Regions from separate parts of the Homo sapiens genome. Here all the other regions are linked to region 3. Evidence: promoter capture Hi-C in human tissues and cell types (Jung and others, 2019). All regions are on one chromosome and are shown on one strand. The core of a region is centred on a gene start or on the middle of the fragment in contact, and the rest is flanking DNA. Distances in the headings are between cores, read along the strand shown. Region 1 overlaps SPPL3 (signal peptide peptidase like 3). Region 2 overlaps MLEC (malectin). Region 3 holds the start of MSI1 (musashi RNA binding protein 1). Region 4 overlaps SPPL3 (signal peptide peptidase like 3).

Region 1 (6,515 bases), core at 1,380-3,879, 400 kb before region 3:
CCTGCCAACATCTCCGGGCGCATGCAGAAGGTCTCCTACTTTCACTGCACCCTCATCGGATACTTTGTAGGTAAGAGAACCAGAGAGACTGCAGATGATCCTCGCTCTGGCTGTCCTCCAACCTTTGGAATTAAATCAGGTCTTCTAGCTACAGTTACTGGATGGAAGGAGAGCAGGAATTCTGGGTGCTGTAATAGACAGCCTGGCCCGTGAGATGCTAAGTGTTTTGTGTACTGGATAGGCCAGTTCCCTCTCCAGCTGTGTATCTGAAGAACGTTGTAGGAAAAGCAGGTCAGTCCTCAAAGCCAAGGACACACAGCACACAGTGCAGTGGATTAGTCTGTGCTTAAATCTTCCTCTAGAGTTGAATGACTGTCGTATTTATTTCCTACTTTATTCAATAGATACTTACTTACATTCATTAGTTCTACATTTCTGCCACTCTGACCTAGGCCAAGTTTTGTAGCCAGCTCATGTGTAGGCAGACAGGAGATGATTGTGATGGGGCTGGGAAAAGCAGTAACCTGCCCGCACATGCAACTGCTCCCGCACAGTGACTGGAAAGGAGCTTTTGCACTCCGTACGTCCTCCTCAACCCCAGCACTGTCCTCGTCCCACAGCAGTTCATTCACATGGGTTCATTTCAGTCCACAAACTCAGAGGGGCAAGGCAAGTGGCATTATCCCCATTAGACAGATGAGCAAGCTGAGGCTCAGAGAGGTGGAAGGTCTGAACTACATTTATGTTAGCTATTGTGAGTAGCAGAGTTGGAACTTGAACCCAGGTCTTCTGCCTCCCAAGTCCAGCATCACAGGAGACAGAGGCACACTTGGAGCTGGAAGGAGGGTTTGAACCCAGGAACCTGAGCAAGGAGTGAGACTTGGGTCAGTCATGTGTCCTTGGAGTTGTAGGTGTTTTTTAAAGCTGTGCTGATCCACATTTCTTCAACTGCCCAAGCTGGGCATTTCACACCCCAACCATAGAATGGACGACAGCACATTAGATCTGTACAGTTGCAGGACTTTGCCCAGCAGCAGCCAGGTGACACGGGTTCCCTCTCGTGTCTCACAGATGCCTCTCTCTCCTCACAGGCCTGCTCACTGCTACTGTGGCGTCTCGCATTCACCGGGCCGCCCAGCCCGCCCTTCTCTATTTGGTGCCATTTACTTTATTGCCACTCCTCACGATGGCCTATTTAAAGGTGAGAGCAGCAGTTATAAACCTGTGAAAGCAATAACTTGGATTGGCCTGTGCCTCGGTTTGCACTCTCCTCGCTGGAGGTGATTCTGCTTAAGCCCCTGAGTGAGCTTGTGATCTCGACTGTGTGTGTGTGTGTGTGTGTGTGTGTGTGTGTGTGTGTGTGCGCGCGCGCGCTACCCTGGCGTTAGCAAACGCTTCCAGATTCGTGCAGCCACTGACAGAAAATGCTGATGAGCTAGACCACTACACCACCTGGTCGAGGAATAACTAATTGAAAGCCCCAGAGCCCAGCTGAGGGTACTTCCTGCTTCTGTTCAAAGCAGTGCCCTCCTGCCACCTAACAGCTTAACACTACGTTAAAGTTTGGGAATAATTAAGATTGAATAGTGTTGAGGCAGCATATGATAAAACCAGAGTTCAAGAGCACATTATTTCCCAGATATCTATTCTCAGCCCCGTTTTACAGATGAGGAAGCAGATACAGAGGTCAACTTACTTGCCCAGCTCACTTGACTCACTACCTCTAGAGAGTTGATAAAAGCCCTTTTCTTGCTCAGGGAGCCTAAAAGCACCCCTTCTAGGGAGTCCTCCTAAAAATAGTGGGTTATTTTTGAATGGGTAAGATTTAAATGCTCTTTGGTTTCCCACAGAAGCAATCTGATCTCAGATCAAGCATCAGAAAGGGGCCAGGGGCATGGTGGCTCACGCCTGTAACCCCCGCACCTTGGGAGGCTGAGGCAGGCGGGTTAAGAGTTCAGGACCAGCCTGGCCAATATGGTGAAACCCTGTCTCTACTAAAAACACAAAAATGAACTGGGCATGGTGGTGAGTGCCTGTAATCCCAGCTACTCAGGAAGCTGAGGCAAGAGAATCGCTTGAACCCAGGAGTCGGAGGTTGCAGTGAGCTGAGATCTCGCCACTGCACTCACTCCAGCCTAGGTGACAGAGTGAGAACCCATCTCAAAAAAAAAAAATATCAGAAAGGGGCCAAGCGCAGCAGCTCATGCCTGTAATCCTAGCACTTTGGAAGGTCGAGGCAGGAGAATTGCCCGAGCCCAGGAGTTTGAGACCAGCCTGGCCAATATATAGGAAGACTTCATACCTGGAAAAAAAATTTTTTTTTTTTAAAGAATCAGACAGCTGTGTGTGCCTCATGTTTAAATCTGTAACTTAGAAAGTCCCTTGTTTCCCAGGGCGACCTCCGGCGGATGTGGTCTGAGCCTTTCCACTCCAAGTCCAGCAGCTCCCGATTCCTGGAAGTATGATGGATCACGTGGAAAGTGACCAGATGGCCGTCATAGTCCTTTTCTCTCAACTCATGGTTTGTTTCCTCTTAGAGCTGGCCTGGTACTCAGAAATGTACCTGTGTTTAAGGAACTGCCGTGTGACTGGATTTGGCATTTAAAGGGAGCTCGTTTGCAGGAGAGAGGTGCTGGAGCCCTGTTTGGTTCCTTCTCTTCCTGCGGATGTAGAGGTGGGGCCCCTTCCAAGAGGGACAGGCCTCTCCCCAGCGCGCCTTCCTCCCACGTTTTTATGGATCTGCACCAGACTGTTACCTTCTGGGGGAGATGGAGATTTGACTGTTTAAAAACTGAAAACAGCGAGGAGTCTTTCTAGAACTTTTGAACACTAAAAGGATGAAAAAAATTAGCAAACCGAAGTTTCTTCAATGACCCCTCGAGAACTTTGGGACCAGTTTCCTATAGGGGACTCAGTTTCAGAGAACTGAGACAGAAGCTCTTCTGTCGTTATATTCTTCTTTCCTTTTTTTGGATTTATTAAATATTTTCTGTGGTGTGAAGTGACTTATTAAATCCACAGACATTGAGTGACTTCTTACAACATCCACATAAGAATTTGTTGTAATGAGTTCATGTCCACCCAGATGTTGTGTTGGCAGTGAACAAGGGCACGGTTTTTATACATACGTACATATATATATATAAACACACACATAGATATATATGAATAAACAAAAATGAAATCCTGCTAAGATCACGCTGTGTAGCTGACAGGGGCTTGCTGTCGTTTTGAGCATGTCGAGCAGTTTACTGTGGCTTCCTTGTATATGGATAAGCTGCTGTCCTTCCCCTTCACAACTGACCCCGCAGTTACAAACTAGTATAGCATTTGTGCTGATTGATGATAGACTCATGGACTTCAGGAGCCCTTACTTGGTTTTGATCAGTGTAGCAAATTAGGGATGAAGAGTTCAAACCTTTTGGCCCTTTCTTTCTTTTCTAGGCTTCTCCCTCGCAGGGTGTTCCGTAGTTTCTTCTCGAGCCAATGCATGTATTATAGCAGCAGGTGTCTTTGTGCTTTCTCATCATAGTAACGTACTACTTGTAAATACATTTTTCTATTTTCTATTTTTTTGTATTTTTTTTTTTGACATTTTGTTTCATTGGTGTGCTGTATATTTTCCATGCCCTCACTCCTTTAAGAAAAAAAAAAAGGAAAAAAGCAACACAATCCTGTCCTTGCTGTTGTGATTATAGTCTTGGTTTACCTGTGGTGACAACCGGGTGTTGGGGACACATGTCAAATGCCCCTCTGAGATGGGCCCTAAATTCCAGTAACTGGGGAAAGAACCAGCTGCTGTGTCCTGAGAGCCTGGCCCTGTGCTGTGGTCTCTGCTGCAAGCCCAGATTTCTGGGAGTAACTAGTGTTAGGTCTGCTGACCTTTACCTAAGCAGCCCCTGCCTGGTAAGAAGGTGCCCATTGTTCAGAGGCAAAGAGAAGCCTGCGGTTGGCATGAGGATGCCTGACAACAAAGGCTGGAGAAGGGCCCTGAGTTCCAGCCTCTCCCCAAGGGTCCCCGCCCCAGTGGCTGCCTCTGTCTTGACCTGTGTAATGAATTAGTGTGCTGTGTCACTGTGGCTTGAAGTCACTGTGGATCGAGCTCACAGGGGGCACCCATCCTGTTGTCAACAGAGTCTGAAGCAGTCAGGGTGTTGGATTCCTCTGTTGTTGTCATCAATTCCTGCTGAGGGGTTTCTGGGGTTTTGTTTTTAATAAATGACTCCTTTGTAGCCTTTGTCACATAATCTTCACTTTGGTTGTTGGTACCAAACAGAGCTCCCAGCCATCTCCTCCCTGTTCTGGAAGACTGATGGGAAGACTCTGTCTGTCCCCAGACCTGGTCATCTGCAGCTCTGGCCCAGTCATAGATACATCAAAGAACTGAAGCTTCTGCTGTCCACAGAACTCAAAACTGCCTCTGCATTGGGTGAAGACTAAAAATCCACTTGCGGACTCTCCCTTCCTTCCTTCTCAGCCCTCGAGGATGCATATAGCTAATTAAGCAGGCCCAGAGACAGAGAGGGGGGCTCCAAAATGACTCGGATTAAGGGCAAGTGCCAGTGATGGGTAGAAATAACGTTATCCTTCATGCCTGTAATCCCAGCACTTTGGGAGGCCGAGGCAGGTGGATCACAAGGTTGGGAGCTCGAGACCAGCCTGGCCAACATGGTGAAACCCCGTCTCTACTAAAAACACAAAAATTAGCTGGGCATGGTGGCAGGCGCCTGTAATCCCAGCTATTTGGGAGGCTGAGGCAGAAGAATCGCTTGAACCTGGAAGGCGGAGGTTGCAGTGAGCAGAGATTGCGCCACTGCACTCAAGTCTGGGCGACAGGGTGAGACTCCATCTCAAAAAAAAAAAAAAAAAGGAAATGTTATCCTGGCAGTGGGTCATTTTAATTTTTCTGTCTTTGTTTTCATAAGAAAATTAAATTCCAGACAGAAGGAACGTCGTTATTTTGTCATTCTCACTTCTGTGCAGGTTTTGGGGGGAAATACCCACACAGGGCTGTGAATGCACCCTGGATTCCAGTTGCTAATCTTCAAAGCCCTTAAAACACTCCCTTAAAACTTTGGCAGAGAAACAGCAAATACTCTACTCGTCTCGGAGGGTTGAGTGGGTGGCTGCAGTTAAAGCACACATTAGACTTCCCTTCCAGTGCTCGTTTGCTCCCCGCTGCCTGATACACTTAGGTCCGCCTCTTATTCTGTTTTCTCAAATACCATGGTTTAGGGGTTTTCTAGGAAGTCTGCTGCATTAGGCATGGCATGCTCATGAAATTTCAGCAGATTCCTTCCTCACTGATCTGAAGTCCTTTTTCCTCACAAAGAGACTGTGTGTTACTAGAACTCCCGCTTTTTAATAACTCTTTTTTCTAGTTTGAGCTAATGAAGATATGACAGTAAAGTCTGTCCAAAGCCTAGTGTGTTCCATTGCTGTTATTACAGTGCATACGCTTTCTGAATGTGACAGTGACAGCTCCCCGCATAGGAACGGTTCGGTGGCTTGGGACTAAGCTACTGTCTGAATTACTTTTGTAGCAGGCTCACAGGCCTTGGGTAAACAGGTAAGTTAGGTCACCCACAAGAAAAACAAAAGTACTCGTTCTCTGTGAGGGTGGAGGGGAAGGGAGTTCCATTTTGCCAATCAAGTGTTAAAAATAGAACCTGCTGTGTCTGCTTAGCAGCTCTCACGTTACTGCTCACCAGATCCCATGTTGTGTGTACGTTTCTGTTTTGTAAAGCCTAGCGTTTACGTCAGAGCCTGGGAATGCAGCACTCGTGTCTATACATGGGAGTACATGCCTTAGGGACATCATTTATACAACCCCCTTCTCTACAGAGCTATGTCAGCGGTACAGGCTCAGAAGGAAGCCATCTCGGTCTCTTTCTGGTCTTCAGTGCACAGTGGCCAGGACAGCCTCCCCCACTTCACCGAATCACATTTCTTCAGCAGTTTCCAACAGTGAAATCATTTCTAGGACAATGGCTGCTAACACGTGTCAGCTGAAGCACTGCAGATCGAGTCATCCAACTCAAGCTTCTTCCTCTTATTGGAAGGGATAAACCAGGTAAGACTTTTTAATCCAGAAATTATTCCTATTCCCTGCAATGTATAGGGTGCTTTCTATCTGCAAAACTCTAAACTCAAATTTCTGCAGGTTCAGATTCCAACTGTCTCATGCGCAGAGACTCTCCCATCACAAAATTCTTCCCGCTCCAGCCATCATCTGTTTCCTCCTCAGCCTTTCCCTTGAAATCCAGAGCCCTTTCCTGTCCGTTAGAGGCAATCAGTCATGTTTCAGTGAAGCTTGAGGCACTGGGCCCCCCAGTGAACAAAACCAGACATCCTGACCCCCTACTCCTGCGGTCTGTGCAGGGCTTGCTTTAGCATGCTTGGCTTGTGGGGAGGGGGTGTGGCAGCCATTCCCACACAAGGTCACGCAGGGATGCCACAGTGCGTTCAAGAGTAGAATCCACAGCCTTCTCTCCGTAACTCTGGGCCTTGCTGTA
Region 2 (6,826 bases), core at 1,823-4,322, 330 kb before region 3:
CCATAAGATACTGTACAGCCCTTGAGTGAGGAAAATCTCTATGTACTGACCCATCTATATGAACTACCTCTCTAAGACATATTAAGTAAAAATGGCACAGAATGATATGTATGGTATATTCCCACTTGTTTAAAAAGACTCTGTGTGTGTGTGTGTGTGTATATATATATATATGTAAATACATATATATGTAAATACATTTACACACATATATGTAAATACATTTACATATATATTACATATATATAAATACATATATACACATATATATATGTAAATACATTTAAAATGAAAGATACACACCAGAATGTCCTCTGTATTATCCTTTAGGGATTAGAGGGATAGGGAAGAAAATGATTTTTCAGGCCAGGTATGGTGGCTCACACCTCTGATCCCAGCACTTTGGGAGGCCGAGGTGGGCGGATCACTTGAGTCCAAGAGTTTGAGACCAGCCTGGGCAACATGGCAAAATCCTGTCTTTACAAAAAGTATAAAAATTAGCTGGGTGTGGTGGCTGCACACTGTAGTAGTCCCAGCTACTCAGGAGGCTGAGGTGGGAGGATCGCTTGAGCCTGGGAGGTCAAGGCTGCAGTGAGCCAAGATCTTGCCACTGCACACCAGCCTGGGTGACAGAGCAAAACCCGGCCTCAAAAAGAGGAAAAAAAAAAAGAAAAAGAAAAGAAAATGATTTTTCACATTTTGCACTCCTAACACTTTTTTAAGAATTTATTTCTGTATATATTTATAGATCTTTATATCACCAAGTCTTAAAAGTTACTTTTTCAGAGAAATAATAAAACCTCCATGTAATCATAGATTCATCAGTTATCAATACTCAAAGGTTCCTCTTTAAAACTAGTATATCATGGCACTAAAAGCACAGATTTTGGGGTCAAACAGCATTGGGTTCCAGTCTTTGCTCTGCCAATTACCAGCTATGTGACTCTGGCCAGGTCGTTTCTCTCCTGAGGCCTTTGTGCCTTCATTTATAAGTCAGGCTAGTCACAGGTCTTTCCTAGGATTGTTATGAAGAGACACAAAACGGCAAGAAAAAGCACTGTACTGGTGCCAGGAAGAGTGTCCCATGAATGGTCACTATGACAATATACACAAGTGGCCTCTTTCTCCACGCCCCCTCTGTTGAGGGCAGGCACACAGGGCAGGCGCATGGGGCAGGGAGAAGCCATGGATCCAGGTGAGAGAGTGCAGTGACAAAGCAAGTGGAGTTATTTCGTACTAATGTTAAGTGGTTAGGAACAAACAAAACTGAGACTCTTGGGCCAGGGTGCTGCAGCGAGGTGCTTGTGGCCTTAGGTTGTTGGAGAGCAGAGGCAAGCCCGCTCCAGGACCTCCATGCTCCGCCTCCTTTCTGCCTTGACCCCTCACCACTGCGATAGCAATGAGCTTTCCAGTAAGTACTAGAAAAACTCATCTCTCTTCCTTTATGGGGGATGGGGGGTACTAAGTATGGAGAAAGGTCTCACCGGCTCCAGCCAACCGGGAGCCTGATTTCCTTAGTAAGATTAAGATCTGGACCCACAGAGTGGTCCAACCCAACCCCGGTACTTGGCCCAAGATCTTCTGTCAGACAATTTCCCTCCCTGTAACTCCCTAGAGCAGGAGTTCTTCAGGTCTCTTCCCCATTTGGCAGCTCATGCAAAGCTACTTGAAATAGTAACAACGAAATCTGAATTAGGAAAGAACTCCAGTTATGGGTGGGCTCAGCCTAAGAAAGAGGCTCTGTGGGCCTCCTGGCTTGTTTGGGCCCTGAGAACAGACTCCATCAACAATGGCCTCACTCTTGGGGCTGCACACTGAATTCTGCCCTTCAAGGGATAACTGAGGGAGGTAGGCCAAACTCCTGTTCCTCCACCTCCACCCCTCCCTACCCCTGCAAGCCAGCAGTCTCCATTCCCACTCGGAGAAATCCCGCAGGTAGGCTCTGGAGCCATGCCACCCAGCACCATGAAGAAATGGATGGCAGCAGAGGGTAATGATGGAGAGCAGGAGTCCTGGTTTAAAACCCCAGCTCCGCCTTTTGTTGGTTGTGCTACCTTGTGCAAGTCACTTCATCTCTTAAAGGGGAATAGCAACTGGTTTGTTGAAGATAAAAGAGAGATAACATGTGGAAAATGCTGGGCATTGTGCCCAGCCCATTTCAAGGACTCAGTAATGGACAGCTGTAATTATCTTTACAGCTTTAAAGAGCTTGGGGCTTTGATGGCAAACAGACTGAATTTGAACCCTGGCTTGACCAGACCATTTACTACATTAGTCTGGGGTATGTTACTGAACTTTTTTGAGCTTCAGTGTTTGTGTGTGTGTGTGTATGTGTGTGTCTGTGTGTGTGTGTCTGTGTCTGGGTCACCCAGGCTGGAGTGCAATGGCGAAATCTCAGCTCACTGCAGCACTGACCTCCTGGGCTCAAGTAATCCTCCCACCTCAGCCTCCTAAGTAGCTGCGACTACAGGCATGCACCACCATGCCTGGCTAATTTTTGTATTTTTAGTAGAGACAGGGTTTCGCCATGTTGCCCAGGCTGGTCTTGAACTCCTGGGCTCAAGCAATCTGCTGGCCTCAGCCTCCCAAAGTGCTAGGATAACAGGCGTTAAGCCACCATGCCTGGCTCAACGATCCTCACCTGTAAAACGTGGCTTATAAATTATAGGAAAAAAAATCCCTCCTGCATTCTGCTCTTCCTAATGTGTAATCAACAATGACAAAACACCAGAAAAGGAGCAAGCAGAGAAAAATCTCCTATGGCTTAGGTTAGCTTAGCTTGTCCGTGGGCTATCACAGAGGCTAAGGGAATGGTGAGGAGAGGCAGCAATAGGCCCAGTGTGCCTTAAGAGTGGGACAGTCTGTGCCTAGTTGTTCCAGTGAAAGTGAAAACAAATTTTTTGTCCTTAAATGCGCTGCTAGTTGAAATGACCAGGAAGGGTTTTACAGAATGATTCCCCTAAGCAAACATCCCAGAGAGAAGAAAAGCAAAAGACACACAGCTAAATGGACAACAGTTCCCAGCCTCGTCACAGGAGAACTCTTTGGAGCCAAGTGAACCCCTGGGTCTCCTTTTTCCCACCCCATCACTTCAGCGCTTTGAGATCAAGTTCGAACTCAGTCCCAACACAGAGTGTCACTGCAAATTGTTTATTAAAACACAAAGCAATGGACAGTGAAAAACATCCTGATTTTGTACTTTTTGGTGGGAGTGGGGTGGGACATGGAAGGGGTAGGGTCAGATGGAGACAGCCCAGAAGGAAAGCCAGCTCTATCCACCCCTACAGCTTCCCCGGCCAACCAGGTTCAAAGCCCATCAGTTATATCTCACTGTGCCGCTGTCAATGCATGTTGTGGCTGCTGGCAAAGAGTTGGTTTGGCCTCCACAGAGAGAGGATGGGAAACTAGGGTAGAAGCTACAAGGGCTAAGAACTTGATGCTTTTTCTCCAGTACTTGGTACAGAATAGAGCAGCCAGGCCCAATGTGGAAGGGTGGGCTTGGTTTCCTGACAAGCCAGGTTAGACCAATAATGGTTGAAGAGGCTGCCCTGGGCTCAGAATGGGCAGCTGGTCCTTGCCTGGGAGAACTTTGTGGAAGGAAAAGGTAAGATTCCTTAAGTCCAAGGAGAGAACCAATCCAGGGTCAAATTTCTTTTCATTCCCTGGATCACAACACACCAGGGAAGAGAGGAGTCAAGAATGTCTCTCCCTGCCAGTGCTCCCCTCCTACCTCGCAACTCGGCTCTCCCTTCCCGACAGTTGTCCTTTGAAAGGACGGAAAGCGCACTTCAGTTTGTTGTTGTTTTTCCTCATACTGAAATAAAGCACTGAAGCTCAAAATAGAGGTGAGAATGGAGTTCTGCTTTCCCCAGTGCTATGTGCCCCCATCTCACAAGACTGCCTGGATGCAAGAGGTGCCAAGGCCCTCTCTGCCAACTCAAACAGGCACTACTGTTTCCTTGGCTGCCAGCACAATCCTGGCTCCTTGTGTTTATACTCCTGGGGGAACCTGTCCCAAGAGATCCATCCTGCTCTTTTCCTGCCAACCCAGCTAGTCCCCAAATCACCTGCTCTTATCAAGATAATCTGGCCCCCCATAGCAGGCTAGACAAAAGGCAGCTGGAAAGGACAGGCCAGACTGGAAGCAAGCCACACAGATGCAAAGAAGAAACCTGCCCTCGCTAGGCAGCTGATCTACTGGTACCAATCTAGTCTCATAACAAAATGAGGAAATCTAGCCCTCTTGCCCCAGAGAGATTTAAATACAGAGAGTCTTAGTTTGGACTGAAAGAGAAAAATTGCTCTGATCTTTCTAAAGCTTGAACATTAAGGCTTCTTTGCAATTTTCTTAGAGCTCTTTGATCGTTAATTATATCTTTCCATCGAAGAGAAGCAGATTTCTTCTGAGATTTCTGAACAGTTCCTGGGTGTTTCCGGTTCTGCTTCCGTGTACTATCACTTTGCCTTGCCTCAGTCTCTCCTTCCTCCGGGGCCACAGAAGGAGAAAGCCCAAAGCATACCCATCCTGCCCTTTAAAAAAAAAAAGAAAGAAAGATTCGTCTCTCACTTTGGAAAGCTCACCTACTCTCCTAGGTCCTTCTGGAGGGGCATGGAGGACAATATTCCATGTTGCCATTTGATGCCACTAAGGATCCCCAAGGCAAGAAGACACTTGAATTATGCCAGAGTAGGCCAGCAAAGGGGAGGGAAGGGACAGGGAAGCAGCCCCATGGCAGGGACTATAGGACCCCTGCCCAAACCTGAATCTAGAGGGAATGCCCCACCCTGGCTCAGAGCAGGAGAGGAAAAGGCACTGTGCTGACCGGGGTGGGTCCTTCCCCAACCCCTAGGGAGGGCAGAGAACCTGCTGATTCTTTCCCTGGGTTTCCCAAGGTGAGCCAATTTCTAGGGAAAGGGATTTTAGCACTAGGAAAAGGAAAATACTGCTGCTGTTTTCTGAAGTTCTCAGCTGAGATTTTAGAAACCATATCCAGGCCTTTCCAGGAGAGGCTAGAGGCAGGAGAAGAAGGAAGAGAAATTCCTTAAAACAGAAGCTTCTCCCAAGAGATAAGGAAGTCAAAACCACAGTTCTAAAGCTGGACCAAACAGTTCCCAGGCACAGAAAGGGGGAGGTAAACCTAACTCAAACTGTGCCCTCTCATCAAAGCCTAAATGCCCGCTAACGTGATCCCAGTAGCTCTTAGGCAGGGAGGGCAAGAGAACACGAACACGCTCTCAAACCAACAGGTGGCCCTGTGGGCAGGGCTAGTCTTCCTGGGAGTCTAACGCCATTGACACCTGAAGAAAACTATCTTCCCAGTCATGAGAACTCGGGGTGTCGATTGAGCAGCCTCTCCTCAACAATGGAGATTTTTCAGAAAAGTGAGTCTGGTTTAAGGGACACAAATCCCACAGAGTTTCTTGGCACAATGTTTCAGTAAGCATGAGTGAGACCCAAAAACGTCCAATGAGAGACCAACAGGCCCCTGACCTAAGTCAGAGCTAGACTGCAGAACTCTCAGCCCAGCTCTGCAGCAGACATCTGCGTCATCCTCCCAGAAATTCAACTCAGGCCACACTTCTGGCAAAAGAAGTTTCACCCTGACTGTCCTTGTTTTCAGTCAGCTGGGCTCAGTGGGATCTAAAAACCTGGGACAGAGTGTAGATCCAGTAGAGGAGCCCAGGCCTCTCCTCCACGCACCCCTCACTGGCACCCCTCACCATCTCCCATACATTCCCTATGGTGCAGCCTCTCAGTCCTAGCACTAAGCTCAAAATACAGATAAGAGAACAAACAGTGCAAAAAGCAAAAGGTGAACAACAGAGTAATTCTTGACACATACAATACAAAAATAAAAATAAAGAATCCCACCCCTTTAACCTAAACTTCATGTACCTATATCTTGGAGGAGCCACAAAACAAAAACAAAAACAAAAAAACTTTCAAGTTCAGCATCATGAGCCAGCTGTGACCAGCCCCAGGGAGCTCTTGTTAGCTGGATAGGCTTGGCTCCAGGGGAGTCTACCCCAGCCCCCACCATACTTCTTCCTGTTTCCTCACTTCCCCTTTAGTTTTTGTTAGCCATAGAAAGATGTTCCTTCCTTTCGTTCACAACCAGAGAGGAAAGCGCCCATCCCTAACCCTGAGCTCAGGGGAAAAGGGTGGGCTTGGAAACAGAGGCAGAAGCAAAGCTGCTTGGCTTACAGTACCATTAGGAAATGGCCCCAGGAGTCAGGGTTTCCTTCTGAGACTCTGAGTCACTGAAGGGATGTGTTGAGGTGGAAGGCGGGACCCCCTCCTTCCTCAGACAGACCCAGGCAAACTAACAAACAAGGCAAAATGGAGGCAGCCAGTCCTCCTCCTTCATCTTGACTAACCCAATGGCAGTGGCCCAGGGCTTTGGGGAATTTCGATGGGATAGGAACCAAAGCTACTGCCAGAAGCCTGTTTAGTTAGGATGTCCACTGCCCCAGGCAGGTGGTCCCCAGGACCAAGGCTACAGTACCTTATCCTTTAGAAGCAGGGGAGCTGTGTGAAGCACTATGGGAAGTATACCTCTGACTGCAGCCTCGGGCCACAACCCTCCAGCTGCCTGACTCAATACCCTAGCACTGAGACCCAAGTCACAGCGAAAACAACAGGCTACAATTCTCAAACGACTAAATGCTGGCCTGGAGTAATCATTAAAGAGCCAAAACCCAGGACATGAGCCCAAGAGCTACCTATTTTGTCACATAAGGAGCAGTTCAAATATACAGAGCTCTTAAAAAACATATCTAATAAAGCAAACTCAAAATTAAACACATTCTAGAAAAGCGGGCCTGG
Region 3 (6,803 bases), core at 2,504-5,003:
AAGAGATGCAGACATTCTGCTTAAATGAGAGTTCTGTATCATAGAGTAGACTCATTTACCTCATCTCCTTCAAGTCTTTGCTAAAACGTCTCCCTCCCCATGAGAATGTTGTTGATTTAAAATTGCATCTCAGGCCAGGTGTGGTGGCTCACGCCTGTAATCCCAACACTTTCAAGGGCAGAGGTGGGCAGATCACCTGAGGTCAGGCGTTCAAGACCAGCCTGGCCAACACGGCGAAACCCCATCTCTACTAAAAATACAAAAAATTAGTCAGGAGTGATGGTGGATGCCTGTAACCCCAGCTACTGGGGAGGCTGAGGCAGGAGAATCACTTGAATCCAAGAGGCAGAGATTGCAGTGAGCCGAGATCATGCCACTGCACTGCAGCCTGGGTGACAGAGCAAGACTCCATCTCAAAAATATATATATATATAAAATTTCATCTCACCTTCTTCCCAATAGTACCCACCCTCCCTATCACCCTTCCTTCTCTGTGGCACCTACAACATCTAACTGAACACACCATTTATTTATCTATTGTTTATTCATTCATTCACTCATTCATTCATTGACTCATTCATTCATTCATTTACTTGTATGACTCTCATCTCTAGAATGCAAGCTTTACAAAGGCAGCTGCTGGGACTACAACACCTAGGACAGTGTCTAGTACATAGAAGATGTTCGGTAAATACCTGTGCCAAGTTGCATAATATCATTTGCCCACTGTCTTTCTCAAGAGGATTTTTTAAAAACTATAAAGCAAATTCTTCTTTTATTCTTTGAGTGATGTTCTGTGTGTGTAGTACCAGAGAAAAAGAGCTGGAACCACATCCTCTAATCTCTTAATTCTGAAGTCTGGGCCTGTTGCTCTAAAGATCATTTTTCCTTAATACCACTGAGATCCTCAATTTACTATGAGGATCATGAGTTTACAACTGCATTGTCCTGTGAGGGCTACCTCTAGAAGGGCTTGTCGCCCCTATTGTGAACAAAGTGGACTGAAGCTGCTGCAGCTGAGATACACCTGCACTGAAAGAGGATTTGTCTAAGTCTAACCCATGTTACTGTGATACAAACAAGCTACTGACCAAAAGAGGTAGACGCTTCCTCCTCAGATTCTGAATGAATATGCTAATACATGGATCCTATCTCAAGCTACTTCTTACACAGCATTGGCTGACTCTGAACAGATGCCTTTACCCATTTCCTTTTTTTTTTTTAATCCAAAATGTGTTTATTGAGATGGTTTCCCACTCATCTTGATTCAGAGTGCTTTGGGTGCTGCTTCCTCCTGAAGGAACATCCTTCTGTAGCCTTCCTTTTCCTCCTGTAGGCTGGCAGAGAACAGTGGAGCAGGCAACACACAAAACTACCGTTTGTGCATGGCTACAGACCATGGTGATTTTATAGCATCCTGGGCATGTCATATCCATGAAGTAGGAATCGGGACTCTGCACCAGGCGTTTCTTCTTCTGTTTCCTCTTCTCTTCTGGAGAAGGATGAAGGAGATCCCTGTCGAGAGGCATGTTCTCGTGGGTAGGTCGCCACTGCCGGAAAGGACCCATTTCCTATCCTTCAAGCTCATCTGCCCAGCAGCACCAGCACACAAACCAAAGTCCAGGAACACTGGAAGATCCCTACTCCCCGCACCTCTCCAATGACCCTTTTTAAGTTCAGACCTAAGAAGAGTCACCTCCCTAATACCGCAGAGGCTACCTGCTCACCCTCATCTGTGTCTCTGCTACAACACAAACTGGAATGCTTTTGTGTCGGAATGGTAAGAAATGCCTTGTGTGGGTGGCCCTCCAGTCCCCAGTCCAGGGGATGCTGAGAAACTGTGGGGCAGAGTAGGGGACACAAACAGGAAAAAGCAAGTTTGTTTCTAGTGTTATGCTCACAGGGTGGCAGGATATACCTGCTGAGCATTCCCAGAAGGTCCCCAAGGAAACCATTACTGTAAGTCTCTCACTTTCTTCTCTGCCTGATGGTTGGGGTGGGGAGAGGGAAGGAGGGCTATCAAGAGGGGGATGGGCACCCTTCCAGAGGTCAGAGTTATGATGCCCAGGAATAAAAGGTGTTGAATTCAGGATGGAATGTGAAGGTGAACAGCAAAGGGCTTGTCAACATGGGTTGTCACTGGATTACACCGGATGGATTAAGGTAGGGATGGGGGAAGGAGTAGAAGGTGAGTTGGGAGGGAGGGGCTTGTGTGGCACTGAGACCCCCAGCAGGGATGGGGAGAAGGGGTGTTGGCCACCTAAGCTTCCTGGTTTGATCCTTTTTTGGCTGGTTTCAGCTGGGGAAGTGAAGGGTCCTAAGGCTTGGATATGGAGAGGTGGGAATATGGAGAGGTGGGGATATGGAGAGGCGGGGATAAGGAGAGGTGGGGATAAGGAGAGTGGCCCCGCAGCTCCCCTGGTGAACCAGAATACTTTCTCAGGGTTGTTCCCAGGCTGGAGGGAGGGAATTTTAGGGGTACGTAAGGTGACTCCAAGGAGCCTTGGGTGCAAGTACTGGGGGATCCCAGAGACCCAGAAGATGGGGGTAGAAAGGAAGGTGTTTGCCTTCACGGGGAGTAGCCTCAAAATAAGAGGGACTGAGGGAAGTCATTCCAAATGCAGTGGGTAGGTAGTTTAGGCTCTTCCAATGGGATGGGGTGGAGCTTAGACCTCTGCAAAAGAAGGGGGTCATTCGGAGGGGACGGTGCACAGCTGAGGCGTTGGGCTCCTAAACTGGAAACAGGAGGCTCTAAGAGGCACTGCCTTTTCCTCCAGCCTCGGTGTGGTGGGGGTGGTGAGTGTCTGGAACCGGGTTTCCCGAATCAGGACAGGAGTCTGAATGGATCTCACAAAAACCGGCCAGGGAGGGAGAGAACCAGGGGAGACTCCTCACACCGGGAGGTGGGGGTGGCGGCAAACTGAGAACCCGGGCTTGGGGCGCGGGATTTTCTCAACAGACCATAGGGTCCACTAATGTGGACGGCAGGGATTTGGGGAAACTAAGGGGGACTCTCACTTTGGACACCAAGGGCTGAGGACGGATTGGGGAAGAGGATACGGTTTCTACTGGGGTGCTGATGGAGGTTCCCCACTCGGGACGCGAGGCACTGAGTGGGTCCCCCAAACTGGATATGGGATCCTGGGAACGGAGCGAGGGCTCTAAATTAGAGCCCTGGGGTGGGGGTGGGGGGCTGTAAATTAGGTTGGGAGGAAACTGGGGGCTCTGAGGGCGGCTTCTCGCTCCGACTGGGGAAATGGAGCATGTGGGGACTGGGGAGCACTAGGGCTATCTCCCGCCCGACCCGAGGAGATTGGGGTTCTCTTCAATTCTGGACAGCAGGGACCTGAGAGGGAAGACCGGGGGGGTTCCCGATCCGGAACCGAGCTACCTTGAAGGCACCGGGAAGCGCTTCATTCCGGGAGGGCGTTCCCGCGGCCGGGCCCCCGCGCCGGGGTGGGTGGGGGGTGCGGCCGCGCCCTGGTCCCGGCCCGCACCGGGATTCGGGGGTCTCGCTCGGCCCCGGAGACCCAGGAGCCCCGCGGGAAGGGGGTCCCGGCGCCGCCGCCTCCGCGGGCGCCCGGGCTCGCGGGCGAGCGCGGGGCTTTATGCGCGCAGGGCGGCGGGGGGAGGAGCCGGCAGGTCGGCCCCCGGCGGGCCCTCCCCTCGGCCGTCCCCGCCCGCCCGCCCGAGCGGGGTCGGGGGAGGGGGCAGCATGGCCTGTCCGTCCGGCCCCCTTCGCCGCGCTCCTCATCTGCCCCGCGCCGAGCGCCGCCGCCGCCGCCGCCGCCGCCGCTCCGCTGCCCGCGCCGCCCGCGGCTCCCGATGGAGACTGACGCGCCCCAGCCCGGCCTCGCCTCCCCGGACTCGCCGCACGACCCCTGGTACGGCCCGGCCCGGCCTGCTTGGCCCGCGCCCGCCCCGGCCCCGCCAACATGGCCGATCCGGGTCCGGCCGGGCCTCCCCGGAGCCCGGGCCCGCGCCCCCTGCGCCCTGGCGCCCGGCGCTCACGCGGGCCCTTTGTGTCTCTCCTCCTCCCGCAGCAAGATGTTCATCGGGGGACTCAGTTGGCAGACTACGCAGGGTGAGCGAGCCCGGGAGCGCCCGCCGGTCCGGCAGGGCACCCCGGACCCCCCGGCGCCCCGGACCCGGACACCCCAGCCCGGCCCTGCGCCCTGCTGACCCCGGGCGCCCTCGCGCCCTCTTTCGCGCCCCGCCCGGAGACCCCGAGAGCGCAGGGCGATCCGCGAGCGCACCCGGCCCAGCGGGTGGAGGGGAGCAGATGAGGGGTTCAGGGGGTATCGGGGGGTGGGCTGGGCCCCCGGGACCCGCCGGCGGCAGCGCCAACTCCGCTCGCACCTGCGGCTCAAACTTTTGTGAGGCTGCTCCCGGAGCGGCGGGAACCCGGCCGGAGCCGTCCCCCTTCCAGCCCAGCTCGGCCCTCGGCTTCCCGGGGCCCCGGTGGGCGCCAGGAGGCTCAGCGGGAACGGGGCGAGGGCGGTGGGGGGCGGCGGCAGTGGAGAACGCGCGGGCAGCTTGGCGCGGGGGCGGCCGGGCCGCTCCGGGGTCACCGGGGGCAAAGGACGGGGGGGGGGGAAGGGCGCGGGGCCCGGGCTGGTCCGAAGGCGGGTGTGTGGTTACAGAAGGGCTGCGCGAATACTTCGGCCAGTTCGGGGAGGTGAAGGAGTGTCTGGTGATGCGGGACCCCCTGACCAAGAGATCCAGGTGAGCCCCTCACCCCCTCCTCCTGCTCCCGGCTCGCCCCCCTCCACCCGCCACTCACTGCCTTGTAACCATCTGCCTCTCCCTCACTACGGCGCGCAGGGGTTTCGGCTTCGTCACTTTCATGGACCAGGCGGGGGTGGATAAAGTGCTGGCGCAATCGCGGCACGAGCTCGACTCCAAAACAGTGAGTGGCCCTCGGGGCTTCGGGGGTCCTTTGGGAGAGGGAGGCTGCCGGAGGAGAGGGTCAGGACTCTCCCCAGGGGACAGCTGGACGGGGTCCATGAGGAAGGAGGGAGTTTTTCTGAGTAAGAGGGCTGCCATGCTCTGAAACTTTGTCACTAGAGTTGGGGGGGAGAGGGAGGAGAAAAATCCCTGGCCTGCCATGAGATGCTACATCCCCCCTCCCCTAGTCCTGGTGAGGGGAGAGGCAGCCGCCACCCTCTCCCTAGAAGTACTAATCATGATGCCTCAGAGCAGAGCTTGGGGTGGGGCTAGGTCCCTCCCCCAGCCCAAATTGGGTGAGTCAGGGTAGCACTGACCCACCCGGTGGCTTCTGTGAACTCTAACTAGTATTTGGCTCTGCGACACCCCCTCTTCATCCAGACCAATGGCAAAGCATCCCTTGAAGCCCCCTCCCTCTCTCCTTCCCTCCTCCCCCGACTTTTGGTCAATGAGCTCCTTGCTTTGTGTGGAAGACAGGGACCTGCTTTGCCCACGGAGGGGATTTATGAGAAAGGCTCTAGCTTGCCTGGAAACGACCCTTCGGAAGACTAGATCTTAGGAGAAGCTGCTTGGTTGGCATTCAAACTCATGGAACATTTTGCTGTTGTCCCACAGCTCCTTCGTGTCTTAGACCCTGCAGGGGGCGCTGGCTCCAGGGCAGATGGAAAAGTAGAAAAGTCAGAGGAGGGGGTTACTCCCATGTGATGGGGGTGTCTGTCTGCTGGGGGCAGGGATAGTGTGGATCTCTTCTCTCCATGCTTCCCTGCTGTCCCCCAGCCTTGGGCCTCTCTGCTTGGGTCAGTCCCTGGCTCCCGTTTACCTGCAACAATAGCTGCTTGTGCCCAAGAATTTGTCAAATTACCGCCTGTCCCCAGCTCCTGTTATCTCTGCCCAGTGGCTCCCGCTCCCGCTCGCAGTAATGAGCAAATGAGGCCAGGCCTCAACTTTGCCGGCTCTGAAAGGATCTTCTTGGCGCAGCCTGAGTGACCCAAGCCTGGAAATGGAGAGACAGTGGCCTATTGTTTTTGGTGATTATCTGCCATCAAGCTGCCTGTTCTGCTACCATCCCCTGTCCTCAGAATGCACTGATGGCTTCTGCAGTGCTGAGGAAGCTGAGATTTAGGGGCTGGGGGATGGAGGAGTGGAAGATTGATAAAGGGGAAGAGAATGAGGGAGGAAGGAGGGTGAGATGAGCATCCTTAGGAGATGGGGCTGAAAAGGGCCAGGGCTTTGTCTGTGTTTGGCGTCCTCCAGCCTGGGAAAGGGGGTGGGAGGGAGGTTTACTGTGGGGAGTCTATTTTGAGCTCTGACTTTCACCTTTTATTTACTTGTTGGGTTTTATTTATGTTGCCAGCTGTGAGTCACAGTGGAGGTGGGGTGTGTCAGGGATGGGGTGTGCGTGGGTCTGTGGGATCGTGGCTTGGGTACCATCTCCCCATCGGGGTCTGTGTAGGGGGACTGTGTGTGGTGCGCTGGTGGCTGGGGCGGCTGCTTCTGGGAGAAAGAGAAGGATGGACATGTCCGTGGAGGTGTGGAATTGAAACTTCAGGCGGGAGAAATGGGCAGTTGTGATTTTTCCCTGGAGCCCAGTGGGACTTGGCAGGAGAGGAGGCATTGCCCCAGTGTGGATTTTGGAGGTTCCATCTCTGTGGACAGATTCCAGTGGGGGAGCCTGTAGGAGGCTAGTTCCTGGTCTGTGCCATTCAGAGAGAAGCCAGAGCCAGCTGCCTAGAACGAGGCTGAGTTTTGAACAGAAGGAACTTTGGGAAAAGATAGATCTTCCCTGCGATTGGCTGGTGAACTTATGAATGACGTCCACCCATGTGGGTGGCAAAAAGCTCTGGCCTGACCTGGCC
Region 4 (6,806 bases), core at 3,570-6,069, 490 kb before region 3:
CCCATAGAGAGATTTTCTTACTATGCCTTCAAGAAATGCAATGAGGCAGAACAAAATTGAAAACATAACCATCTCTTATAAGGACCCTAGAGTGACTAAATAAGTAAATACTGATAGATTATAAAAAGAAACTGATTCGTAAAAAGTTAAACAAATTTACCATGTGACCCTGCAGTTTCACTTCATAGTTTGGCTGCTTATAAATTCTCGGCTCACATTTCGTTTTCTCTATTATGTTCTTCCATAGAGCGTTGCTGTCAGAGACTAGTGATATTCTCTTTAGTTATTGTTTTTAGTTTTTGTTATGCTTCCTTGCTTTGATTTTCTTCTTTGGGGACTCCTATTGTATACATTTTGGATCTTCTTTGCCTGTTTTTCTATAGATTGCCGCTCTCTAATCTTTTTATCCCTTTCTTAACTTTTCCATCCTATTTACTTTCTAGTTTCTTTAAGGCATTATCTGTTACCCGTTGGTTGTTCATTCTTGTGTTTCTTTTAGTTTAGTGTTCATTTCTGAAATTTCTGAGTTTTATCACCCCTTTTGAGTTGTTCTAATTCAGATTTATGTTGCCTCGTCATATGATGTCATTTTCTTTGTTTTTTTTTTTGTTTTCTTGAGATGGAGTCTTGTTTTTGTTACCCAGGCTGGAGTGCAATGTTGCGATCTTGGCTCACTGCAACCTCCGCTTCCCGGGTTCAAGCGTCCTGCCTCAGCCTCTTGAGTAGCTGGGATTACAGGCGCCCGCCATCACACCTGGCTAAGTTTTGTATTTTTAAAGATAGGGTTTCACCATGTTGGCCAGGCTGATCTTGAACTTCTGACCACCTCGGCCTCCCAAAGTACTGGAATTACAGGCGTGAGCCACAGTGCCCAGCCATGATGTCATTTTCTTAAAAAATTTAAAATTTCAAAATAATATTGTGTTACAGTTTTTACCTGTTTTAAAGGCATGTTTTTTTTCTGGTATGTTTTTATTGTTTTTACAGATGCTCTCTGCCTCCCTTTCTCTCTTTTTAAAATAATGACTTTGAGATAAAACCACAGTGCTTTCCTGTTGTTCATTTTTAATGAAAATTAATTTTCTTTCTTTTTAAATATATATTAAGTTCCAGGATACATGTGCAGGACGTGCAGGTTTGCTACATAGGCAAAGATGTGCCATGGTAGTTTGCTGCACCTGTCAACCCATCACCGAGGTATTAAGCCCCGCATGCATTAGCTGTTTATCCTGATGCTCTCCTTCCACCCACCCCTGTGACAGGCTCTGGTGTGTGTTGTTCCCCTCCCTGTGTCCATGTGTTCTCATTGTTCAGTTCCCGCTTATGAGTGAGAACATGTGATATTTGGTTTTCTGTTCCTGTGTTAGTTTGCTGAGGATGATGGCTTCCAGCTCCATCCATGTCCCTGAAAAGGACATGATCTAATTTCTTTTTATGGCTGCATAGTAGTGTATATGTACCACATTTTCTTTATCCAGTCTAGCATTGATGGGCATTCGGGTTGATTCCATGTCTTTGCTATTATGAATAGTGCTGCAATAAACAAACACATGCATGTGTCTTTATAATAGAATGATTTATATTCCTTTGGATATGTACCCAGTAATGGGATTGCTGGGTCAAATGGTATTTCTGCTTCTAGATTCTTGAGGAATCGCCACAGTGTCTTCCACAATGGTTGAACTAATTTACATTCCCACCAACAGTGTAAAAGCATTCCTGTTTCTCCACAGCCTCGCCAGCATCTGTTGTTTCTTGACTGTTTAATAATCGCCATTCTGACTGGTGTGAGATGGTATCACATTGTGGTTTTGATTTGCAGGAAATTAATTTTCATAAACTGAGAGAGAGAAGTGGGCAGGAAGACTTTAGCTTTCTGGCTCTAGAGCTCCCTCTTTTGACTTTTCTGGTGGAGGGGAAGAGGGAATCCTAGCACTTTCAGACATCTGGTCATTACTCTTCCTGGTTCTTTATTTGGGCCACCTTCTTCCTTTTCTTCTCCTGTCTCTGTTCTGCTGGATTCTGTTCCCAGTAGTTTCTCCTCAGTACAAGACTTTGTCCTGAAAGAGAGCTTCAGATGGTTAGCTTTTAGTTTAGAGGGTCCCTATCACTCCATCCCCTTGTACAGGCCATAAGTTGGAATGTACAGAGCTCCTTTAAAGTTCAACTGCTATTCCTAGTTCAGCTCACCTTGCTTGCCAGTACCTGTTGTCTCATTTGGGGTTTTCCTAATTTCAGATTCATCAAATACCCTGTTGCTTCCCTTTGCTGCTTCTCACACAGATGGCAATTGCACACCAGTCTTTAGCAGTCAGTAGTTTGTCCCCATCTGCTTGTCTTTTGGGTTTTGTGAGGCTACCTGATCACTTAGCTTTGTTGTAGGTGCAGATTTTCAGTTTTGCATCCAGATTGCTCAATCTGTTTTTATGGGAAAATTCAGGAGGATTCAAACCAACTATGCCCTGAATGCTGCCGTCGTTCCAGAATCTTGTCCCATAGTTAAATTTTTATTTTCGTTTTTTGAGACGGAGTCTCGCTCTGTCTCAAAAAAAAAAAAAAAAAAAAAAAAGATGAAAATTGTTCATCTCCACACCAGTGGCCAGGGGGCTCAGTGAGTAGCAAGGGTTCATGTTCTGTGTATTCTTCTGCTCTGCCCTCCAGCATGTTAACCTCACCTCTAGGCTTGCTGCGCTGCTGTTTGCAGGACAACTGCAACATTTCCGAGACATCACATCCTCAAGACCACAAAAAAAGAACCTTCTCTTCTTTGTGTTTCTTTTTTTTTTTTCTTTCAGATTAAGGGAAATCTTTTCCTTCTGTCTCATTGGCCAGAATTGCATCATAAGCCTAAGCCACAAGGGGACTGGAATCTGCATTTAGGTTTGTGCTGTCCAGCAAGGTAGCCACTGGCCACATGGGGCTATTTAAATTTAAGTTCATTAAAATTAAGTACAACTACAGATTAAGTTCCTTAGTTGCACTCACTGCATTTCAAGTGCTCAGTAGTCCCATGTGGCTAGTGGCTACCTGATTGGACAGTGCTGTAATATTACTAGAATGTTTTCATGATCACAGAGTTCTGTTGAACAGTGCTGGCTTACATTAATCACGATTCACTCCCTGGGCCTTTTCAGAATTGCATTTAGTCTTGAGATTTTCTCAGGTGCATTCCAGAAAGCATGTTCATGGTGAACAGCCACAGAATCTGACAATGAGACCACCCCATGTGGCTCTGGGGCTTCAAGTACACCCCCATTCATTTGCATGAGTGAAATAATTTCTCTGTGTAGGAGAAACAAAAAGGTTGTTTTACTGCCAGAAAAAGTACTGAACACATTTCTGAAGTACTGTTTTTCTTTTCTTTTCTTTTTTTTTTTTGAGATGGAGTCTTGCTCAGCTGCCCAGGCTGGAGTGCAGTGGTGCAGTGGCACGATCTCAGCTCACTGTAACCACCATCTCCCGGGTTCAAGCGATTCTCCCGTCTCAGCCTCCCAAGTAGCTGGGATTACAGGCAACTGCCGTCATGCCTGGCCAGTTTTTGTATTTTAGTAGATACGGGGTTTCACCATGTTGGCCAGGCTGGTCTTGAACTCGTGACCTCATGTGACCTGCCTGCCTCGGCCTCCCAAAGTGCTAGGATTACAGGCCTGAGCCACAGCGCCTGGCCTGTTTTTCTTGAGACCAGTCATTTTATTTGAAAATTAAGCTTTGAGGTCATAGTGCTAAATAGCCAGGGCCTATGATTTACTTGACAAAAATTGTTTTTTATACATTTGTCAGTTTCTAATTGGGTAGTTGGAAAATGCCAGGAAACTATTATTTCTGTTCATTTTTTGTGCTATATGGAATCTGTTATACTGAGGGGATGTACTTTATAAGTTATTAGTACAAGGATTAATCACTGATAGTCCCCTTCTCTCGTCATTCTTGCACTCTGTGGGGTCTAGTGATCCATCCATACAAGGAGAAGAAACGGTGGCTGGAGGGATAATGAGTTCCCTCTCCTCTTTCCTACACACTAGAAGTAGGGTCAGGAAAGCCCTGCATGCTTCTTCCTTCCCTGTCCCTTCCCTGCCCCTTGTGGAGGGTCATCATGAAACAGTTACATGCAGGTGCTATAAAAATCCTGGCGTGTTCTTTGGTCCAAATAGTGATCTTGAATGTCATAAATATAAGAATATTTTCATTGCACTGTTTTTCCTCAGTTGAGCAGGTTTTGATTATAACAAAACAAATGCCCCGCTTTGGAAACACTTGGTAATGACTGTTATTTAAAAGGAGTAGGAATAATAGGAAGTTAGCTTCTTCTTGTTGACCTTTGGAAAGGTTTGTAACTTCATGATGCTTCCTTAGACTTTGGGGCATTCAGGCTGACTGAATTTTAGACCCAATTGACAGTCATTTTTGCTTGAGTCTTTTTGAAAATCTTTTTAGTATTATTAAAATGGTTTCTTGCCTTAATAAAATATACAGAATATATAATTTAACATGTATTTGGCTTTGATAGCACCTCAGGCTCTTGTTCATCAATTATTGTTTTAGTGATTTATAGGTGTAGCTGTTGCAAAAGGAAGGTGGTCACACAGCACATAGCTGCCATGACTTAAAAAGAAAAAAGACCTGTGCTGTTGGCTTGCTTACTTCTCCATTGTATGTTGGCAAGACTAGATTTACTTAGCATCAGACTACTAGAGTATGTATATAGATACATATAATTCAACACTTATCACCAAAACAGTTTCTTGAGCATTCTAAAATTGTTTTAGGGGTGGACCATGTTTACCTCCCACTGAATGTGGAGAATTTTTTAGGTGCTTCATGGTAAACCCTTGGCTTTTCTGATTTCCTTGGGTCAGTTTCCTCTGCCCACCTCACAGGAGGCTGCCACATGTGTTCTTACATTTACTCCTTGAAGAGCCGTCAGTAAAGGGTACATTGATAACTTGCACAGTCATGAGTAATTCAGTTTGAGTAGCTAGGTTTATCCTGTTTGGGGAACTGACTGTCACTGTGGGGTTTTCTTCTCCCTCTGGCCTTTTTTTTCCCCGTGTGTGTGTGTGTGTGTGTGTGTGTGTGTGTGTGTGTGTGTATGTGTGCGTGTGTGTGGTGGTGGTGGTGTTTGTTTTCATGTGGTTTTGGGTTTGGGTTTTGTTGTTGTTTTTTGCTATTCCAAATACAAATTCATCTCACTTGCTTTCATAATATATTCAGTAGTTTTTCTGAATTGCTATGAAAATGTGAATTTTATCTAAAACTGATTTTTAAGGTATGGTCTTTGGACTAGTAGTAGCATCTGTATTGCCTGGGAACTTTTTAGAAATTTATGAATGCTTGGCTCTGCCCCAGATCTGCTGAACCAGAAACTCTGGGGTAGGTACAGCGATCTGTGTTTTAACAAGTCCTCCAGGTGATTTGGATACACCATCAGCTTTGAGAATCACTGGTCTAGAAGATCCATGAATTTAATCATTTTGAACAAATGCTGAAACTTCCTTTCCATGTGCTTTGGTGTGCATCATATCTTCTTCTTAGTCTAAAATTTATATCAAAAGAATTAGGAATACTATGGTTTGTTACAGCTTCTTGTTTTGCTACTATTGTGTACATTTTTAGAAGTTACTAAGGAAAAAATTTTACGTTTGGTGTCAGATGTTTGTCCATGTGACATTTGAATGAGTAAGTGCAATTCCTTTGGGCAGATAAAAATGTCAGTGTACTTTATTTGTCTAACAGGAATTCTCTGCTTGTAGATGTAATATAATATAGTTCTGTAGACTTAGAAATCAAATATTTACCATATACATTTTCCTTCATTTGCTTGCCTTAGGAAAAAAAGTGGATGAGCAGATAAGATGATGGTAAAGAATATATCTTTAGGCCGGGCGTAGTGGCTCATGCCTGTAATCCCAGCACTTTGGGAGGCTGAGGCGGGCGGATCACCTGAGGTCAGGAGTTCAAGACCAGCCTGGCCAACACAGTCAAACCCTGTCTCCACTAAAAATACAAAAAAATTAGCCAGGCATGGTGGCGGGTGCCTGTAATCCCAGCTACTCGGGAGGCTGAGGCAGGAGAATCGCTTGAACCCAAGAGGTGGAGGTTGCAGTAAGCCGAGAATGCACCACTGCACTCCAGCCTGGGCGACAAGAGTGAAAATCCATCTTAAAAAATATATATATATATATGAAATATATATGATATGTATATATTATATGAAATATGTATTTCATATATCATATGTATATATTATATGAAATATATATTTCATATATGTATATATGATATATGAAATATATTTTATATATAATATACATAGATATAATATATGAAATATATTATATGTATATTATATATAAAATATATTTCATATATGTAAAATATGTATATTATATATGCATATATTTCATATATGTAAAATATGTATATTATATATGCATATATTTCATATATGTAAAATATGTATATTATATATGCATATATTTCATATATGTAAAATATGTATATTATATATGCATATATTTCATATATGTAAAATATGTATATTATATATGCATATATTTCATATATGTAAAATATGTATATTATATATGCATATATTTCATATATGTAAAATATGTATATTATATATACATATATTTCATATGTAAAATATGTATATTATATATGCATATATTTCATATATGTAAAATATGTATATTATATATACATATATTTCATATATGTAAAATATGTATATATAAATTAATATATATGATTATATAAATATAATAAAGATATATATCTTTAATAGAAAATGTCAAATTGGCATG

What was found. The method cuts DNA at HindIII sites, captures the fragments that hold promoters and counts their contacts. A contact is called where the count stands out against the background at its distance.
Region 1: a contact is called between a fragment that was not itself captured here and the fragment with the promoter of MSI1 in region 3, in 1 of the 25 tissues and cell types used here (spleen).
Region 2: a fragment that was not itself captured here is called in contact with the fragment with the promoter of MSI1 in region 3 in 1 of the 25 tissues and cell types used here (dorsolateral prefrontal cortex).
Region 4: a contact is called between a fragment that was not itself captured here and the fragment with the promoter of MSI1 in region 3, in 4 of the 25 tissues and cell types used here (dorsolateral prefrontal cortex, lymphoblastoid cells, pancreas and 1 more).

What each region holds. Positions count from the first base shown.
Region 1 is chr12:120,760,949-120,767,463 of GRCh38, reverse strand. SPPL3 (signal peptide peptidase like 3) reads left to right here. Exons shown (of 11, transcript NM_139015.5): 9 at 1-70; 10 at 1,092-1,201; 11 at 2,394-4,954. The coding sequence ends at 2,465. Among named protein-coding and RNA genes, the nearest start is that of ACADS, 38 kb to the right of the region's middle. RefSeq lists a silencer at 4,203-4,366. The HindIII fragment of the contact is 7,096 bases long and covers 1-6,177 here.
Region 2 is chr12:120,698,168-120,704,993 of GRCh38, reverse strand. MLEC (malectin) reads right to left here. Exons shown (of 5, transcript NM_014730.4): 5 at 3,135-6,826. It overlaps LOC124903035 (a long non-coding RNA gene), which reads left to right. Exons shown (of 2, transcript XR_007063489.1): 1 at 1-2,281; 2 at 2,950-3,183. Among named protein-coding and RNA genes, the nearest start is that of UNC119B, 8.9 kb to the left of the region's middle. The HindIII fragment of the contact is 5,890 bases long and covers 128-6,017 here.
Region 3 is chr12:120,366,114-120,372,916 of GRCh38, reverse strand. It overlaps MSI1 (musashi RNA binding protein 1), which reads left to right and starts at 3,753. Exons shown (of 15, transcript NM_002442.4): 1 at 3,753-3,884; 2 at 4,044-4,084; 3 at 4,644-4,725; 4 at 4,825-4,909. The coding sequence starts at 3,826. It also overlaps the pseudogene RPS27P25. The HindIII fragment of the contact is 19,353 bases long and covers 1,445-6,803 here.
Region 4 is chr12:120,852,267-120,859,072 of GRCh38, reverse strand. The region is part of intron 1 of SPPL3 (signal peptide peptidase like 3); the gene reads left to right. Among named protein-coding and RNA genes, the nearest start is that of SPPL3, 49 kb to the left of the region's middle. The HindIII fragment of the contact is 8,131 bases long and covers 754-6,806 here.